Linked DNA regions of Homo sapiens: region 1 is linked to region 2. Evidence: promoter capture Hi-C in human tissues and cell types (Jung and others, 2019). All regions are on one chromosome and are shown on one strand. Each heading gives the region's core, a stretch centred on a gene start or on the middle of the fragment in contact. The rest is flanking DNA. Distances are from core to core; before and after follow the strand shown. Region 1 overlaps LOC105370026 (a long non-coding RNA gene). Region 2 holds the start of HSPB8 (heat shock protein family B (small) member 8).

The links. The method cuts DNA at HindIII sites, captures the fragments that hold promoters and counts their contacts. A contact is called where the count stands out against the background at its distance.
Region 1: a fragment that was not itself captured here is called in contact with the fragment with the promoter of HSPB8 in region 2 in 6 of the 25 tissues and cell types used here (adrenal gland, hippocampus, neural progenitor cells and 3 more).

The regions. Positions count from the first base shown.
Region 1 is chr12:119,212,916-119,218,970 of GRCh38, reverse strand. LOC105370026 (a long non-coding RNA gene) reads right to left here. Exons shown (of 3, transcript XR_945438.3): 2 at 5,230-5,294. Among named protein-coding and RNA genes, the nearest start is that of HSPB8-AS1, 32 kb to the right of the region's middle. RefSeq lists an enhancer at 1-275. The HindIII fragment of the contact is 6,029 bases long and covers 1-4,490 here.
Region 2 is chr12:119,174,855-119,180,273 of GRCh38, reverse strand. HSPB8 (heat shock protein family B (small) member 8) reads right to left here and starts at 1,343. Exons shown (of 3, transcript NM_014365.3): 1 at 595-1,343. The coding sequence starts at 961. It overlaps LOC105370024 (a long non-coding RNA gene), which reads left to right and starts at 3,790. Exons shown (of 2, transcript NR_134996.1): 1 at 3,790-3,867. RefSeq lists enhancers at 991-1,740, 2,920-4,119. The HindIII fragment of the contact is 13,927 bases long and covers 1-5,419 here.

The sequences.
Region 1 (6,055 bases), core at 227-2,726, 39 kb before region 2:
GATAAGATGTTATCAATGACAATGCATGCCCGAAACTTCATTAGCAATTTTAATTTTGCCTGGGTCCTGTGGTCCTGTGATCTCACCCTGCCTCCAATTGCCTTGTGATATTTTATTACCTTGTGAAGCATGTGATCTCTGTGACCCACACCCTATTCATACACTCCCTCCCCTTTTGAAAATCACTAACAAAAACTTGCTGGTTTTGCTGCTTGGGGGGCATCACAGAACCTGCTGACATGTGATGTCTCCTCCGGACACCCAGCTTTAAAATTTCTGTCTTCTGTACTCTTTCCCTTTATTTCTCAGACCAGCTGACACTTAGGGAAAGTAGAAAAGAACCTACGTGAAATATCGGGGGTGAATTTCCCCCGATATTCATTCATTTATTCATTACTCATCAAATAATTGTCTTTTAGTGCCTCAATTTTCTCATCTGTCACATGGGGGCACTAAAATATATTTGATTGAACCACAGGAAATTGTTAATATTGGACTGTTTTAACCTACAGAAAATGGCAGTTTCATAGAGTGTGACCTAATACCACCTGGGTATTGTGATAATGATTAAAAGAGTTAAGCTTTATGAGTTCAGATCTATAAAATGTTTAGCACGTGGTGACAGTGCAAAAAAAAAAAAAAAACATGAACCCAAATGATGGCTTTAATAATGATGATGGCAATGATGCTGCTGCCGATGACGCTTATTGTATACAAGTTCTGAGCTATTCCCCACAAGTATGATGGGGACAGAGTGCCATTTTATTCTTCAAGAAACTTACAGTCTAAAGGGCCAGGTGTAGTGGATTGTGCCTGTTAATCCCAGCACTTTGGGAGGCCGAGGAGGGCAGACCACTTGAGGTTGGGAGTTCGAGACCAGCCTGGCCAACATGTGAAACCCTTTTTCTACAAAAAATACAAAAATTAGCCTGGCATTGTGGTGCACGCCTATAATTCCAGCTACTCAGGAGGCTGAGGCACAAGAATTGCTTGAACCCAGGAGGTGGAGATTGCAGTAAGCTGAGACTGTGCCACTGCACCCCAGCCTGGGCAACAGAGAGAGACTCTGTCTAAGAAAAAAAAAAAGAAAAGAAAAGAAAAGAAAGAAAGAAAAAAAGAAACTTACAGTCTGGTAAGGGAGGGAAGTAGGTGTGGATGATCCAGTGACAGGTGCATTGATGGTTATGCAGTCTGTCTTGGGAGCCCCGGGTATAAGAGGAGATAGCTAGAAGAAGCAGAGTGCTAAAGGTAGGAGCATTGGCCACCTGAAGAAAACTGAGGACAGGCCACAATGTTACAGGCAGAAAGAAGCACATGTATGAACAGCTGCAAGACAGAGCATCAGATGTCTCCTAGGTAACCCATGTCTGTTGTGGCTGTCTCTCTCTGAGGTGCTGTTCTCACCTGGCTCAAAGACAGAGGTCATCATTCCTGAATCACAGTCCAAGATGTTTGAACCCTCAACCCCTGTGTGCCCCTCTGAGCCCCACCTTGATTCCTTGCCCGAATCTCCCTCTCAGTTCCAAGCGCATTCCTGCAAATGTGATTGAGAATTCTTTGCTAACACTCCTTGCCTGTGGTGTCATCTTGTTCCTGCCACCCTACTTCTAAGCTCACACCAGCCTGTCTTCCTCTTGCCTCATAAGGACTATCATCGGGTTTGTGTGTCTATATCACTCAATGAACAAGTATGTTCATGTATTCCCTACCAGAAACTGTGTCTTTTCCTCCATTATACCCCCAGCAACTTGCAAAGTGCCTGGCACATAGGAACTACTCCTTAAATGTCTGTTGCAGTATGAATAAGTGAATGAAGATGAATGAGCAACATATATTGAGGGCCTGGCATGTAACAACCCCAGACTCTTGGACCTATTGAAATAATCTAATCTAGTAATTCTCAAACGTATTGATCTCTGGACACTTTAGACTCTTAAAAATTACTGAAGACCCCAAATAATGTGTTTGTATAGATATAGCTATCATTATTTACTACTTTAGAAATTAAAACTGACACATTTTTAAAATATTTATGTATAAATCCATTTAAAAACAATAGGCAACCCATGTGATGTTAACAAAAATATCATATTTTTATGAAAAATAACTATATTTTCCAAAAAACCGAGAAGAAGTACATTGTTTTATATTTTTGCAAATCTCTCAGATGTTCAACATTCAATGATGACTGGATTCTCATTGCTGCTCCTGCCTTCATTCTATTGTGATATCACTGGTCATGTTGACTAAGCGAAATTTTTCTCTCTACTCATGAGAGTATGAGAGTGAAAAAGGCAAATAACACCTTAGTAGTGTTACAAAAAATAGTTTTGATCTCGTGGACCCCCTGAAAGTGTAGTGGGAGCCCTCTGGAAGCCTCTAATCTCTCTTTGAGAAGGATGGATCTAGTCTGCCTTTACCATTTTAAATTTTACAGAGAAGGAAACCAAAGACTAGAGATATGAAGGGATTTCCCTAAAACTAGAAGCAAATTTCTCAGATTACAACAATAACGACAATGAGAGCTATCATGCATTGAGCTCTTACTATGTGCCAGGCACTGTGCTCAGCACTTTAAGGGCTGATCTCATGAAATCCTTGATGCAATTCTCTAGAGTTGGAACTATTTTCACCTTGGTTTACAGAAGAAACTAAAGCCCAGAGAGGTTATGTCAGTTACCTAAGATCACACAGCCAGTCAGCAGCAGAAATAGGATTCAAACTCAGAGTTACGTATTTGAGTTTTGGCTCTTAGTCCATGATCCACATTCCTGCAGCATAAATACATACTTGAGGGCTGGGTGCGGTGGCTCACGCCTGTAATCCCGGCACTTTGGGAGGCTGAGATGGGCGGATCATTTGAGGTCAGGAGTTCGAGACTAACTTGGTCAACATGGTGAAACCCCATCTCTACTAAAAACACAAAAAGTTAGCTGGGCATGGTGGCGGGCGCTTGTAATCCCAGCTACTCAGAAGGCTGAGTTAAGGAGAATGGCTTGAACCCGGGAGGCAGAGGTTGCAGTAAGCCGAGATAGCACCACTGCATTCCAGCCTGGGCAACAGAGTGACATTCCGTCTCAAAAAGAAAAAATGCATACTTGTATGTGGAAGCTAATAAAGAGGACAGGGTCCTCTTAAAATGTGGGTGGCCTTCAGTGCCCAGAGAGAGTAGGGGTGCTCCAGAGAGTTGGAGTAGAGCTGGAGGGTTAGGGCTTTGGCCGAAGTTGAGCACAAAGGAAGTTGGAGGTGAATCTTTGTGGACCTCCCCGCAGACCTCACAGGGGGCACTCTGTTTGTCTGCCCCAGCAGTTCACAGTCAATTTGGCCAATTTATCAAAAATCAACTCCATGATCAGTAGTTCCCTAAAATAATCAAGATGCTTGAAATCAATCGATCCAATCGGTCAAATTTGCCAGTTTTCCAAAACTGTATTTTAAGGAAAACTCTTATCAAATATAATTACTGAAGACGAACATCCTGCTCTTGAACATAGTCAATGACTACATTCTCATAATATGCTCTTTTAATCAGTTCAATGGTAATTCTCAGTGAATTTATGCTTCTTGAATACTCTTATCCAAAAATGTAGCCAGGATATTTTAATTATATTCAAGACTCTGTTTAAGATATTCAATAATCTATTCTTCATTAGCAGATAGTCATAAGAAAGCTAAACAGCCCCCATGATATTTAGTGTTAGACAAATTAAGCTTAAAATGCTGCTGAGAAGGATATGTTCTCTGAATATGTTCAAGACTAATATATTAAGCAGACCATATTAATATTCATTGGATATATTCAGGAAGGCTAGTCTTCAAGAACATTTTTGGCAAATTCAGAAATTGGTAGACTGGTGGTCTGTCTGGCTTTCGGCCAGTCTGAGGACAGGCATCCTGCAATCACCGTGGGAGTCATGAGATGACAACCCTATTCAAAGGCTATGAGTTGCATTAGAAGCCTCGGAGAGTAAGAAAGCACTGTTGTGTCCCCAAACACCATTTTGACCCTTTGGGCACCTTCATGAGAGGAAACAAAAAAGCAGAAGAGAAAAGAGAGAGAGGGGTTCATGTTGCCTGCCATTCACTGCCATGTCCCAAAGACACTGTGAGCATTATCTCCCTTAGTCAACCCGAGGAGTTGGTAATGAAAATTACCCCTTTACTAATGACGATGCTGAGGTTTGGATAGGTGAAGTGACTTGCCTAAGATCCTCTAGTTAGTTGAGGGCAGAGTGGGGATTTGCACTTAGGCAGGGTTGGAAATTGCACTCAGGCAGGGTAACGATTTGGACTCTGACAGAGTGGAGATGTGAACTCAGGCAGAGTGGAGATTTGCATTCAGGCAGAGTAAACATTTGAACTCAGGCAGAGTGGAGAGTTGAACTCAGGCAGAGTGGAGATTTGAACTCAGGCGAGTGGAGATTTCAACCCAGGCAGAGTGTAGATTTGAACTCAGGCTGAGTGGAGATTTGAACTCAGGCAGAGTGGAGATTTGTGCTAAGGCCGAGTGGAGATTTGGACTCAGATAGAGTGGGGATTTGCATTCAGGTAGAGTAAATATTTGAACTCAGGCAGAGTGGGGATTTGAACTCAGGCAGAGTGGGGATTTGCACTCAGGCAGAGTGGGGATTTGAACTCAGGCAGGGTAGAGATTTGCACTCAGGCAGAGTAGAGATTTGAACTCAGGCAGAGTAGAGATTTGAACTCTGGCAGAGTGGAGATTTGTGCTAAGGCCAAGTGGGGATTTGAACTCAGGTAGAGTGGGATTTGCTTTCAGATAGAGTAGATATTTGAACTCAGGCAGAGTGGGGATTTGAACTCAGGCAGAGTAGAGATTGGAACTCAGGTAGAGTAGAGATTTGAACTCTGGCAGAGTGGTGATTTGAACTCAGGTAGAGTGGGATTTACTTTCAGGTAGAGTAGATATTTGAACTCAGGGAGAGTGGAGATTTGAACTCAGGCAGAGTGAGGATTTGAACTCTGGCATATGAACTTCACCGAATCAATGAAAAAAGAAATGAAAGGTGAGGTGGTGCCCTGTTAGTGGGAACTGAATGGATGAGGGCTGGATGTGAAGGAGCCTGGGGAGTTCTAAGGGGCTTGACAGGATTTCCTTTTGGACATTAGAGGAACCAGGCGATGCAGTGGGAGGCAATTTTGAGTCAAAAGCACAGGCCCCTTTCTTTTTTCTGTGTAGAAACAAACACAATAGAAATCCTGATGACCTACCTGCCTGTTTACTTGTTCCCTCATCACGTGTTTGCTTAAGCTTAGATCCAGTTGTATTATGTTCCCTGAAACATAAAATAAATAAATAAAAATAAGCACGAAGAACTGTGGAAGAACAAGGCTGGCCACTGGTGTAGATGTTCGCACCGTTTCCCTGCAGCAGCTTTATACAGGTTCCAAGGTATTTATTTCATTCTTTCTTTTGAGAAAAAAAACAACCTTTTATTTTGTTGTTTATTATTCAATTAAGACACACCCCACATGTACCTTGCTGATAAATTAGAAAATTATAGATAAGCTAAACTAATAAAATAAAAATCACCAATACATCTGCTCTCCCTTACTCCAAAAAAAAAATCATTGTTAGTATTGGGTATATTTCTTTCCAGCACTTTAATTCTTATGCAATTTTTAAATGGTATCCTATTGTACCTGCTATTTTGTAAGCTGATCCTTTCAATGTATTGTGATGATATAAATAAAGACAATTTCACAACTTGGTTTTTACAACTGCAGATTTCTGATGGTTGGTTATTTATTTCTTGTTTTCAAAGAGGTGAGAGGTGGAGAAGTGTTTTGTGGCTGACTGGGCCATTGGCTATAGGGCCAGGGGTCTTTCCACAGGATGTGGGAGGGCTTGGAATAAGTTGGAAACTTCTGATGGAAAACATTTTGGGACTTCAAAATAACACCCCTCTATCGGCCAAGTGCCCTCCTTTGTCAAATGGGTCATTTTAAGAATTGAATGAAAGAAGTATGCTAAGGCCTAGACAGCATCTCCTTCTTCTCCTCCTTCACTCCATTTATCTAACACATGTCTCCATAG
Region 2 (5,419 bases), core at 94-2,593:
ACCCACCTCCTCTGGTTGTGGTATTAGCTGAGATATTATAGGCAACAGCAGTTAGCAAAGTGCTGAGCGAATAGTTAGCACTCAGAGTTACCAGTTAGTGTTACTACAATTACTGGTAAGCCTCAGTTTCCCTGTCTGGGACAAGGAGAGGTGTTTCACCGGAAACCAGTTGCGGTTATTAACACTATCATTGTTCAGCCTTAACGTGCACTTCTAGACTCTGTTATGATGCTGGAGTGCACAAAATCCCGTTTCTTCTTTGTTTTTTAATTCTTTGATATCTGCTTAACCTATTCTTTATATTAAATGCCCTCTGTCAAAATATCCAACATGGTTTCTATTTTCCTGTCTGTACCATGATTGATGAGCACCCAGAGGCCCCAATAGCTGAGTCAGGCAGGTTAAGATCTCTGCTGGGAGCCGGGAGAGAAGTTTTCCGTAAAGATAACTTTGCAGGCTGCATTCCTGAGCCCTGAGGTCACCTGTGTCACACTGTCCCAACGTCAGCTCCCAGGAAACTTTCTCTGGCTATTCCCAGGGCTGAGGGCTACATCCCGGCCTCCCCATTCTCTCTCCCTCCTGCCCCTGACTTACCAGACACCTCCACGTATCCATCTTTGGTCTTCACCATCAACTCCTCTGGCTTGAAGCTGTGCACATTCACACACACTTTCCAGGGCTCCCCAGGGAAGGGTGGGGGGGTCCTGCCCTCGGCAGGCACCCCAAACCTGGCGGTGGCAGTGGGGCCCCGGGGCACCATGCCCGACCTTAGGGTGCCTGGCCAGGCGGAGGAGAGACGAGGCAGAGCCCAGTCGGGCCAAGAGGCTGTCAAGTCGTCTGGGAAGGGGTCCATGCCAAAGCCATCATCCAGCAGGCGAGAGGAGAGGGGAGAGTCCCGGAAGGGGTCTCGGCGCAGGCGGCTTGGGTAGTGGCAGGAGAAGGGCATCTGACCGTCAGCCATGGTGGCTGCTCAGCTCAGAGAGAAACAGAGGCTCAGAGAGACAGAACCACCTGCCCAAGGTCACACAACAAGGTGGTGTGGCTGGGCTAGCTTATTCTTCAGCTTCCGAAAATGCTGCTTTTCTGCAGGGAGAAGCAGAACCAACCACTGCCAGGGACGGTTGTGTCCCCTCGACTGGGGTCCCAGCCCCCAAAGGTAACCCCCGGGGCAGATCCAGCAGAATCCCAGAGGGTCCCCGTCCGCACTGCCTCACGACAGACCGGCAAGCCACCGTCCTCCCAGGCTTCCCAGGCTGCCCAGGCTGGCAGCCAGAACCGCTGAGGTCTAGAGCGGAGCCAGGAGCTTAATAAACCCAGGGCACGCGCGCCTAGAAACTTCTTCTGGCTCCTTCTGGGCTGCAAGCCTTCTATTTATTTGCTGCTGGAGGCTGGAGGCGGGTTTTGCAAGCGTCTCCTGTCACAGGAATATTCGGAGGTGATGAACCAGCCCCGGAGAATCCGCGGAGGGAACAGCTGGGCTGTGGGGGGAGCTGGGAGGGGCCGCGTCCAAGTTCAGCCGGCCTCTCCGGACACTCTCTCCTCCCCTGGCCACTCCGCTCAGCTCCGCCCTCCTCTTGCTCCAGGAGCTGGAGCCGCCCTCCCCGAGCGGGGCACTAAGGCCTGGCTATTAATAACCCCGAGCCTGGCTGAGGGCTCAGGTCACCCTCTGGAAATACCTTCCCTAGAGCGTGTCGTATCCTGCCTTTCCCCTGGGGACCTGCAGAAAGGGAAGAGAGAGACAGGAGCCCAGTGGATTTGAAGGATGGCCCTGGGTTGCAATCCCCACTTACAAGATGGCCAAGCTCCTAGAGCCTCAATGCCCTCTGGGGAGATTGGTAAAGGAAAAAAAAAATTTTTTTAATGTGTATATATATATTCATATGACGCTTGTTAAAGTATGACAAGCAAGACTTTACTGGGCAGGGAAACTTTCTCCATAGATGTAGGGACCCCTGCAATGGGATTTTGCAGTGAGGGAGAAAGATTAGACTTGATTCCCAGTAGGTCATGGGTAAGTGTGAATTTGTAGCCAAGAAGCAGGTGGGGGGTCAGCGAATGGAAATTTACTAGGAGGGAAGTCCAGGAGTCAGAGGGATTCGGGCTCAGCTAACCTAAGAGGATTCTTGCTGAAGACAGGCCAGGGTGCTCAGACATCACCTGGGGGACCGCGGAGGATGAGGAAACTAATCAGATATCGAGGGTGATCAGAAATCGAAGATGGGTGGTTGCTACTAAACAGACTTAGCAGAGTTCATGCCAAAACTGAATTTTTCTTTCTTTCTTTTCTTTTTTTTTTTTGAGACAGAGTCTCACTCTGTCCCCCAGGCTAGAGCGCAGTTGCGCCATCTCCGCTCACTGCAACCTCCGCCTTCCAGGTTCAAGCGATTCTTCTGCCTCAGACTCCCGAGTAGCTGGGATTATAGGCACCCGCCATCGTGCCCGGCTAATTTTTGTATTTTTTAGTAGAGTTGGATTTCACCATCTTGGCCAGGCTGGTCTTGAACTCCTGACCTCATGATCCACCTGCCTCCACCTCCCAAAGTGCTGGGATTACAGACGTGAGCCACCTCGCCTGGCCCAAAACTGAATTTTTATAAGGAACCTCACTGATGGGCTTAGGAGAAGATTCAGAAATCCGATTAATGTTTGGTCAATCAAAGCATCTTTATAGGCAGTAACATTATTCCCAGGCACCTCCAGGTTGTTAGTTTTCCTCCTTATAAACGGACATAACAGTAGCCAACTCACAGATGTACCATGAAGAATACATGAGGTAATTCTCTTTCTCCTTGTATTTTCAATTTTGAGTTATCAATTACATAATGTTTGCTATATGCCAGGCCCTGCTCTATGGGCTTTATAAATATGAATTCATTTAACCCTCACCAGCAATCCTGTGAGGTAAGAGTACCAGTATTATCCCATTTTACAGATGAGAAAACTACCATAGAAGTGTTCATGAATAGTAGCTTCTATTATTATTATGACTGTTAATACTGATAATTATTGAAAGATGTTACACTCAGGCAGGAGGTCTGGTCTGAAACTCAAAGCCCCAAATCTAGACTTTCCTGCTCTTCCCATGCAGCTGGAAGAATGAATTTACAAATCCTCCTTTGGCTTGGAGGCCTCTTCGGCTTGGGTTCTAATCTTTGATCTGTCCGCAACAGGCAGAAAATTTTAGGCATGTCGTTTTCCCTGTGTGGGCTTTCGGGTCTCAGCCCTGCCTTCTTCACGAGATGAGGGTAAACTGAGGATATTAAGGAATTCAGTGAGTCATAGGTTGAGAAATTGTTTTGATATTAAACAGTGAGTGCATGAGGCAGTTTGCTAAAAATAATAATACGGAGAAAAACAATCACTGTCGCCCATTGCCTCCTGTGCGTCTGCTTTTAGAGTTAGTACATTTCAGACATTACTGAGTTAAATCCTGACTCGATAGTTAAACGTCACTATTATCATCACCCCCATTTTGCAGGTGAAAAAACAGAGGCACAGAGGTTTGACCCTTGCACACAGATATGGAGTGGCAGAGCCTGGGTGGGAACCTGGGTTGTTCTGAATCCCGGATCTGTGCTTAACCGACAGACAGAGACCCCTGCCCTCCTCCCCAGCTGAGAAAGAATGGTGGGGACCCCACGGCATGACATGTCCCGAGTGACTGGGCCCCCACTGGATGTAGGGTGAGCTCATCAGGCTGGAAGCTTCGGGCTGACGTCATGGCTGGGCACAGAAGCTTCAGCTCTCTCTGTAATTACAGCTGGGCGGGGCTGGCTGAGTTGGAAACCAGTTGTGGGGAGAATCACTGCAAGCCGCATGACGCACCGGAGAAACCTGGCCCTGCCTGGGACCTGGGCAGGGGCTGGGGTGAGGTTTCTGAGTGGGTGGGACAGAGTGGAATGAGTTTGTGTGCGGATTTGAGTGGGTGCAGGAGTGAGTCTGTGTTTATGCGCCGATAGGTCTGTGTTTGTTTATCGCCGAGTCTGCTGGTGGGTATGTTCAGGAAGAAACTCCCCTCCTTTTCCCTTCCCAGGCCATCCCCAAACCTCCAGAGGACCCCTCTGCCTCAAATGAGGCTCAGTTGGGACCAGGGGACCTGGAAGGAGGGGAAGCCTGGCGAAGGAGCAGGGAACCGAGCTGTGATGACCTAATCCACCTTCTCATTTCAAGGATGAGGGGGACGAAAGGGAGGATGCAAAGGTAGAAAATAGAAATAACAATCACTGGCATTTACGGGGCACTTGCCCCGTGCCAGCTTCTGTTCTGAGCACTTTAAATGTATGTTCCTAAACTCTTTTACTTCTCCCCACAATCCTATTAGGAAGGATGTTTTTAATTTATTTATTTATTTTGAGATGGAGTTTCACTCTTGTTGCCCAGGCTGGAGTGCAACGGCATAATCTTGGCTCACTGCAACCTCTGCTTCCCGGGTTCAAGTGATTCTCATGCCTCAGCCTCCAGAGCAGCTGGGATTGCAGGCACCTGCCACCACCCCTGGCTAATTTTTGTATTTTTAGTAGAGACAGGTTTTCACCATGTTTGTCAGGCTGGTCTCGAACTCCTGACCTCAGGAGATCCACCCACCTCGTCCTCCCAAAGTGCTGGGATTACAGGCATGAGCCACCATGCCCGTCAGGAAGGATGTTTTATTAAACTCATTTTAGAGATGAGGAAACTGAGGCACAGAGAGATTACCTGACATGCCTATGTCAGTGGCAGAGCTGGGATTTGAACCCCGGGCAGTTTGGTTCTTGTCTCATCTGCTACACTGCCTCTGAAGTCAAAGTCATGGCTCACATTTATTGAACACTAACCATGTACCCGGCCCTGTGGTCAACAGTTTTATCCATGACCTCATGGAATCCTTGTGGTTCAGAGAGGTCAAGCCACCTGCCCTGGACCACACAGCTGACCAAGGATTGGAATCCAAGCCAGGGCGCACTTGGCAGTGCACGGTAATAACCACTATGGGACAATATTGGCCCAGCCTTGCCCAGCGAGCCTTCCACACTGCCTGGTGTCCTGTTCCCCCTTGGGCTCTCATTGCATTTCTGGATCTGGTCAGCCCTTCATTTCAGGAAGCTGAGGAGGGAGGCAGCTGCTCCTGCTAACTCGGCCACCTGGTGAGGAGTTAGCTAACACATGAGGAAAGTGGTCACTAAACCCCATGGGCTGTCACCAATCAGGTGAAAATATGACGCCAGGCTCAGGGGAGGCCCGGGAGAAGAAGGGGCCTCCAAGCTGGTTCCGCCAGGGAAGAAGAGACCTTAGAGGGGACTGTGGTACAGGGGAAGGATGTTAGATCCTGGGAACCAGAGCCACGTTTCTCTTGGCTGCCATCCTCATAGAGCTTTCGTACGGGGCGTACCACCATTAATTCTCAAAACAGCCCAGGAGGTAGGTGAGATCACCCTGCATG